Regions from separate parts of the Homo sapiens genome. Here region 1 is linked to region 2. Evidence: promoter capture Hi-C in human tissues and cell types (Jung and others, 2019). All regions are on one chromosome and are shown on one strand. Each heading gives the region's core, a stretch centred on a gene start or on the middle of the fragment in contact. The rest is flanking DNA. Distances are from core to core; before and after follow the strand shown.

The links. Contacts are between HindIII fragments. The study calls those that stand out against the background at their distance.
Region 1: a fragment that was not itself captured here is called in contact with the fragment with the promoter of EMC4 in region 2 in 1 of the 25 tissues and cell types used here (stomach).

The regions. Positions count from the first base shown.
Region 1 is chr15:34,166,827-34,171,336 of GRCh38, forward strand. All of the region lies in intron 1 of KATNBL1 (katanin regulatory subunit B1 like 1), which reads right to left. Among named protein-coding and RNA genes, the nearest start is that of KATNBL1, 41 kb to the right of the region's middle. The HindIII fragment of the contact is 5,274 bases long and covers 194-4,510 here.
Region 2 is chr15:34,223,267-34,227,504 of GRCh38, forward strand. EMC4 (ER membrane protein complex subunit 4) reads left to right here and starts at 1,750. Exons shown (of 5, transcript NM_016454.4): 1 at 1,750-1,934; 2 at 2,270-2,384. The coding sequence starts at 1,849. RefSeq lists an enhancer at 2,064-2,113. The HindIII fragment of the contact is 15,250 bases long and covers 290-4,238 here.

The DNA of each region.
Region 1 (4,510 bases), core at 1,581-4,080, 55 kb before region 2:
ACTCCAACAGACCTGCAGCTGAGGGGCCTGTCTATTAGAAGGAAAACTAACAAACAGAAAGGAATAGCATCAACATCAACAAAAAGGACATCCACACCAAAACCCCATCCGTAAGTCACCAACATCAAACACCAAAGGTAGATAAAACCACAAAGATGGGGAGAAACCAGAGCAGAAAGGCTGAAAATTCAAAAAATCAGAACACCTCTTCTCCACCAAAGGAACACAACTCCTCACCAGCAAGAGAACAAAACTGGATGGAGAATGAGTTTGACAGGTTGACAGAATTAGGCTTCAGAAGGTCGGTAATAACAAACTTCTCCAAGCTAAAGGAGCATGTTCTCACTTGTTGCAAGGAAGCCAAAAACCTTGAAAAAAGGTTAGACAAATGGTTAACTAGAATAACCAGTGTAGAGAAGAACTTAAATGACATCATGGAGCTGAAAATCACAGTACGAGAACTTCATAAAGCATACACAAGCTTTAATAGCTGATTTGATCAAGTGGAAGAAAGGATATAAGTGAATGAAGATCAAATTAATGAAATACAGCAAGAAGACAAGATTAGAGAAAAAAGAGTGAAAAGAAACGAACAAAGCCTCCAAGAAACATGGGACTATGTGAAAAGACCAAATCTATGTTTGATTGTGTACCTGAAAGTGACGGGGAGAATGCAACCAGTCAGAAAACACTCTTCAGGGTATTATTCAGTAGAACTTCCCCAACCTAGCAAGGCAGGCCAACGTTCAAATTCAGGAAATACAGAGAACACCACAAAGATACTCCTCAAGAAGAGCAACCCCAAGACACTTAATTGTCAGACTCACTAAGGTTGAAATGAAGGGAAAAATGTTAAGGGCAGCCAGAGAGAAAGGTCAGGTTACCCACAAAGGGAAGACTAACAGCGCATTTCTCGGCAGAAACCCTACAAGCCAGAAGAGAGTGGGGGCCAATATTCAACATTCTGAAAGAAAAGAATTTTCAACCCAGAATTTCATATCCAGCCAAACTAAGCTTCATAAGTGAAGGAGAAATAAAATCCTTTACAGACAAGCAAATACCAAGAGATTTTGTCACCACCAAGCCTGCCTTACAAGAGCTCCTGAAGGAAGCACTAAACATGGTTACGAACAACCAGTACCAGCCACTGCAAAAATATGCCAAATTGTAAAGACCATCGATGCTATGAAGAAACTGCATCAATTAACAGGTGAAATAACTAGCTAGCATCATAATGACAGGATCAAATTCATACATAACAGCATTAACCTTAAATGTAAATGGGCTAAATGCCCCAATTAAAAGATACAGACTGGCAAATTGGATAAAGAGTCAAGACCTATCGGTGTGCTGTATTCAGGAGACCCATCTCACGTGCAAAGATACACACAGGTTCAAAATAAAGGGATGGAGGAAGATCTTCCAAGTAAATGGAAAGCAAAAAAAAAGCAGGGTTTGCAGTCCTGGTCTCTTATAAACAGACTTTAAGCCAACAAAGATCAAAAGAGACAAAGAAGACCATTATATAATGGTAAAGGAATCAATTCAACAAGAAGAGCTAACTATCTTAAATATATATGCACCCAATACAGGACCACCCAGATTCATAAAGCAAGTCCTTGGAGACCTACAAAGAGACTTAGACTCCCACACAATAACAATGGGAAACTTCAACACTCCACTGTCAATATTAGACAGATCAGTGAGACAGAAGGTTAACAAGGATGCCCAGGATTTGAACTCAGCTCTGCACCAAGCTGACCTAACAGACATCTACAGAACTCTTCACCCCAAATCAACAGAATATACATTCTTCTCAGCACCACATCGCACTTATTCCAAAATTGACCACATAGTTGGAAGTAAAGCACTCCTCAGGAAATGTAAAAGAACAGAAATCACAGCAAACTGCCTCTCAGACCACAGTGCAATCAAATTAGACCTCAGGATTAAGAAACTCACTCAAAACCATACAACTACTTGGAAACTGAACAACCTGCTCCTGAATGACTACTGGGTAAATAATGAAAGAAGGCAGAAATAAAGATGTTTTTTGAAACCAATGAGAACAAAGACACAACGAACCAGAATCTCTGGGACACATTTAAAGCAGTGTGTAGCCGGAAATTTATGGCATTAAATGCCCCCAAGAGAAAGCAGGAAAGATCTACAATCGACATGCTAAAATCACAATCAAAAGAACTAGAGAAGCAAGAGCAAACAAATTCAAAAGGTAGCAGAAGGCAAGAAATAACTAAGATCAGAGCAGAACTGAAGGAGATAGAGACACAAAAACCCTTCAAAAAAAATCAATGAATCCAGGAGCTGGTTTTTTGAAAAGATCAGCAAAATTGATAGACTGCTAGCAAGACTAATAAAGAAGAAAACAGAGAAGAATCAAATAGATGCAATAAAAATTGATAAAGGGGATATCACCACTGATGCCCCAGAAATACAAACTGCCATCAGAGAATACTATAAACACCTCTATGTAAATAAACTAGAAAATCTAGAAGAAATGGATAAATTCCTGGATACGTACACCCTCCCAAGACTAAACCAGGAAGAAGTTCAATTGCTGAATAGACCAATAACAGGCTCTGAAATTGAGGCAATAATTAATAGCCTACCAACCAAAAAAAGTCCAGGACCAAACAGATTCACAGCCGAATTCTACCAGAAGCACAAAGAGGAGCTGGTACCATTCCTTCTGAAACTATTCCATCAATAGAAAAAGAGGGAATCCTCCCTAACTCATTTTATGAGGCCAGCATCATCCTGATACCAAAGCCTGGCAGAGACACAACAAAAAAAGAGAATTTTAGACCAATATCCCTGATGAACACTGATGCGAAAATCTTCAATAAAATACTGGCAAACCGAATCCAGCAGCACATCAAAACCTTATCCACCACGATCAAGTCGGCTTCATCCCTGGGATGCAAGGCTGGTTCAACAGATGCAAATCAGTAAACGTAATCCATCGCATAAACAGAACCAACAACAAAAACCACATGATTATCTCAATAGATGCAGAAAAGGCCTTTGACAACATTCAACAGCCCTTCATGCTAAAAACTCTCAATAAACTAGGTACTGAAGAATCATATCTCAAAATAATAAGAGCTATTTATGACAATCCCACAGCCAATCTCATACTGAATGGGCAAAAACTGGAAGCATTCCCTTTGAAAACTGGCACAAGACACGGATGCCCTCTCTCACCACTCCTATTCAACACAGTGTTGGAAGTTCTGGCCAGGGCAATCAGGCAAGAGAAAGAAATAAAGGGTATTCAATTAGGAAAAGAGGAAGTCAAATTGTCCCTGTTTGCAGATGACATGATTGTATATTTAGAAAACCCCATCATCTCAGCCCAAAATCTCCTTAAGCTGATAGGCAACTTCAGCAAAGTCTCAGGACACAAAATCAATGTGCAAAAATCAAAAGCATTCCTATATACCAATAACAGACAAACAGAGCCAAATCATGAGTGAACTCCCATTCACAATTGCTACAAAGAGAATAAAATACCTAGGAATCCAACTTACAAGGGATGTGAAGGACCTCTTCAAGGAGAACTACAAACCACTGCTCAATGAAATGAAAGAGGACACAAACAAATGGAAGAACATTCCATGCTCATGGATAGGAAGAATCAATATCGTGAAAATGGCCATACTGCCCAAGGTAATTTATAGATTCAACGTCATCCCCATCAAGCTACCAATGACTTTCTTGGAAGAATTGGAAAAAACTACTTTAAAGTTCATATGGAACCAAAAAAGAGCCTGCATTGCCAAGACAATCCTAAGCAAAAAGAACAAAGCTGGAGGCATCATGCTACCTGACTTCAAACTATACTACAAGGCTACAGTAACGAAAACAGCATGGTACTGGTACCAAAACAGATATATAGACCAATGGAACAGAACAGAGACCTCAGAAATAACACCACACATCTACAACCATCTGATCTTTGACAAACCTGACAACAAGCAATGGGGAAAGGATTCCCTATTTCATAAACGGTGCTGGGAAAACTGGCTAGCCATATGTAGAAAGCTGAAACTGGATCCCTTCCTTACACCTTATACAACAATTAATTCAAGATGGATTAAAGACTTAAATCTTAGATGCCAAATCATAAAAACCCTAGAAGAAAACCTAGACAATACCATTCAGGACACAGACATCGGCAAGGACTTCATGACTAAAACACCAAAAGCAATGGCAACAAAAGCCAAAATAGACAAATGGGATCTAATTAAACTAAAGAGCTTCTGCACAGCAAAAGAAACTACCATCAGAGTGAACAGGCAGCCTATAGAACGGGAGAAAATTTTTGCAATCTACCCATCTGACAAAGGGCTAATATCCAAAATCTACAAAGAACTTAAACAAATTGTCAAGAAAAAAACAAACAACCCAATCAAAACGTGGGCAAAGGATATGAACAGACACATCTCAAAAGAAGACATTTATGCAGCCAACAGACATATGAAAAAAT
Region 2 (4,238 bases), core at 500-2,999:
ATAACTTTAGGAAATAAGAAAAGACATACAGATATGTTCACAGCAACACTGGTTATAAAAGGAAGGAAAACAGGAAACAATTTAAATGTCCAATAATAGGCTATATTATGAAAAAGGTATACCATACAAAACCCAATCACTTTAAAGAATGACATACATTATTTAATGACACGTCATTAAAAACACATCAATGGTGTTATTTGGTAATGATGTGATACATCATTAAAAACACCACATAACCTAGCACTTTGGGAGGCCGAGGCAGGCAGATCACCTGAGGTCGGGAGTTCGAAACCAGCCTGACCAACACGGTGAAATCCCATCTCTACTAAAAATACAAAATTAGCTGGACGTGGTGGCGTGCGCCTGTAATCCCTGGTACTCGGGAGGCTGAGGCAGGAGAATTGCTTGAACCCGGGAGACGGAGGTTGCAGTGAGCCGAGATAGTGCCATTGCACTCCAGCCTGGGCAACAAAAGCAAAACTCCGTCTCGAACAAAAACACAAACAAACCAAACACCAGATATGTGGTGGGCACTAATCTCACAAGCCTTGAAAGTAGGTAGATTATCCAACTTTTACATGAAGAGGCTGAAACAAATTCAACTTGCCCAAGGTCATACAATTATTAAGTGGTGAAACCAGGATTCAAAAGGAGGCCATCTGCTGGGTGCAGTGGCCCATGCCTTTGTAATCTCAACATTTTGGGAGGCCAAGGCAGGAGAATCACTTGAACCCAAGAGTTTGAGAGCAGCCTGAGCAACATAGCGAAACCCTGTCAAAACAAAACAAAACAAAACAAAACAAGACTGGGGCGTGGTGGCGCGCCCTGTGGTCCTAGCTCCTCGGAACGCTCAGGTTGGAAGGAACGCTCAGGTGGGAAGATCGCTTGAGCCGGGGAAGTCGAGGCTGCAGTGAGCCGTGATAGCGCCACTGCACTACAGCCTCGGCAACGGAGTGAAACCCTGTCTCAAAAAACAAACCCAAAACAAACAACAACAAACGCAGGCTAACTGAATACCGAGCCCATGTCCCCTTCCATGCCCACAATGCTGCCTTGCCTTTGTGCAGAATGTGGTTAGAACTGTTTACCTCGCAAGGTTACTGTGCAAGTGAAATGAAATAAACACATGACACAGTGGACATTCAATACTCAGAAACTACTAAGTAACTCGCTCAAGGTCAAGCTAGGATTTAAACCCAGGATTTGAATCTTTTGTTCCAGGGAGCGCGTAGGAGGTTAAGAAGCTTTTCTTGGCTTCCTTTTTTTTTTTTTTGAGACAGAGTTTCGCTCTTGCTGCCCAGGCTGGCGTGCAATCGCTCGGTCTCAGTTCACTGCAACCTCCGGCTCCCGGATCCAAGCGATTCTCCTGCCTCAGCCTCCTAAGTAGCTGGGATTACAGGCGCCCGCCACTAAGCCCGGCTAATATTTTGTATTTTTAGTAGAGACGGGGTTTCACCATGTTAGCCAGGCTGGTCTCGAACTCCTGACTTCAGGTGATCCGCCCACCAATTCTTAACGCTGAGTCAGTATGGGCTTTCCTTCAGCCCCATAAAGTGCACCTCAGAGGTCAGGGAACACATAACAAGGACATTCAAAAGGGGAGCGCGCGGAAGTGGCTTTAGGAAGCACTAAGTCTTGCCTGGTTTTTTTTCCTCCCTGCTTTTCTAAATCCAAACCCGGACTCCTCAACCCACAGCACCACCAATTTCCAGGGCGGAAATGACGTCGTATTCACGCGCCGGAAGTGCATTTGCAGAGTGAGACAAAGCGGAGAACGCTGGTGGGCCTGTTGTGGAGTACGCTTTGGACTGAGAAGCATCGAGGCTATAGGACGCAGCTGTTGCCATGACGGCCCAGGGGGGCCTGGTGGCTAACCGAGGCCGGCGCTTCAAGTGGGCCATTGAGCTAAGCGGGCCTGGAGGAGGCAGCAGGTGAGGCACCTGGGCAAGCTGTACATCACTGTTCATCCCAGAACTGCACCAGAGTAATGAGACCTGAGCCCTCAGGCATAACTCTGAAAAAGATGGGTGGCACACAGACATCACCTGGGGAGGTAGCGGCTTTTCTGCCGTGGAAGTTTCTCTGCTCAAACAATGCTTACATCAGTCCTCCTGATAAGTCAAAGGACTGAGGAACATACGAGGGGGCTTGGTCTAATCTGAGTAGGTGCATCTGAAGATCTTTATTCCTATGATTGGTAGATCAGGAAATGTGGGATAAGAAGTATCGGAGGTTGCAGCTTTAGTTTCTTGGTTTGGTTTTTTAGGGGTCGAAGTGACCGGGGCAGTGGCCAGGGAGACTCGCTCTACCCAGTCGGTTACTTGGACAAGCAAGTGCCTGATACCAGCGTGCAAGAGACAGACCGGATCCTGGTGGAGAAGGTACAGAGGTATAGATGTTACCGTAGCCCATGGGCCAGTCCTGAGTTACACACTCATCCTCTTCTCCTAGGTGGAGTTAACGTAGATAGCTCTTATCCTGAAGATTTGGAAACTAAACTGCTTGAGGCTGGTATTTCGGTATTTTATATATCAGCTACAAAAGTGCTTAATAATTTGAAAAATAGAAGATGTTTGGAACATAAGGTATAAGAAAGTAGGTTGAAAACTATCTTTTGGTGGCAACATCTTCCAGTTGAAGTGATCCTTTTTCTACTCTGGTTCCCTTACACCACATATCCAACTGTCAGGATACTCTGTTGGCTTTACCTACTACTTTTTCCTGTGTTCACCTCTCATCCTAATCCAAGCCACCATCCTTCATCTAGATTTCTGCAGTAGCCCGGCTAATTTTTGTATTTTTAGTACAGACAGGGTATCACCATGTTTGCCAGGCTGGTCTTGAACTCCTGACCTCAGGTGATCCATCCGCCTTGGCCTTCCAAAGTGCTGGGATTGCAGGCATGAGCCACCGCGCTCGGCCCGGGGCTATTTATATTTCTAATTTCTCCTGTCATTTTGTTACATTTTTTCTAGAAACTTATCCATTTCCTAAAATTTCAAATGTATTGATATAAAGTTGTTCATAATATGATCACTTCCATATATGCAAGATCTGTGATGTTCATTTTTTCATTCCTGATATTGAATATTTTGTCTCCTCTCCTTTCTTCATCAGGCTCACCAGTATTGATTTTTTAAAAATTATTTTCATTTATTTTTACAGGTCACTGTACCCATCACCAGTATTGATTTTATTAATCTTTTCAAAAATACTTGGGTTTTTTTCTAGTTTCTTGAAATGGATGCTTAGTTTATTTTTAGACTGCCATTACTTTTTTTCTTTTCTTTTGAGACAGTCTTGCTGTTGTCGCCGAGGCTGGAATGCAATAGCACGACCTTGGCTCACTGCAACCTCTGCCTCCCAGGGTCAAGCAATTCTCCTGCCTCAGCCTCCCGAGTAGCTGGGATTATAGGCACCCACCACCACGTCCAGCTAATTTTTTTGTATTTTTAGTAGAGACGGGGTTTCACCACGTTGGCCAGGCTGGTCTGAAACTCCTGACCTCAGGTGATCCACCAAGCTCGGCCTCCCAAAGTGCTGGGATTACAGGTGTGAGGCACCGCGCCCGGCCACATTGCCATTACTTTTAATGGCAACAACCGCAGTTACTTTTGCAGCAACCTGGTAGTATGTATTTAAGGTTATAAATTTCTCAGAACTCTAGCTGTGTCCCACGAGTTTTAAAATGTGGTACTTTTGCTATCATATAAATCTATTTTCCATTATAATTTCTTCATGTATCATTGTTAATTCCCAAACATAAGAGATTTTCTAGTTACTATAAAATTATTTCTAGTTTAATATCATTGTAGTCAAAGAATATGTTTTGTACAATTTGCATTCTTTGAGATTGACATTTTCTTCATGGCTCAGCGAGTGGTCAGTTTTTGTGAATATCTTGTTTGAAAAGAATGTGAATTCTGCAATTGTTGAGTGCAGTGTTACATGTCAGTTGGGTTAAGTTTGTTAATGTCATTCAAATCTTCTATGTCTTGATTTGCCTGCTAATTCTATTATTTCTGGAACTAAATTAGTTCGATGGTTCTATTAGTTATTGACTGAGGTGTGCTAATCTCCCATTATGTGGATTTATCTATTTCTTCAGTTGTAGATAGGACATTGATAGATACATAAGTACCAGGACAAAAGCAGGGAGATCTTTTTTCCAAAATCAGGAGAAAAAAATGACATCTGGAAAACCTATAGGGAAAGGCATAACAGATGGTAAGGAT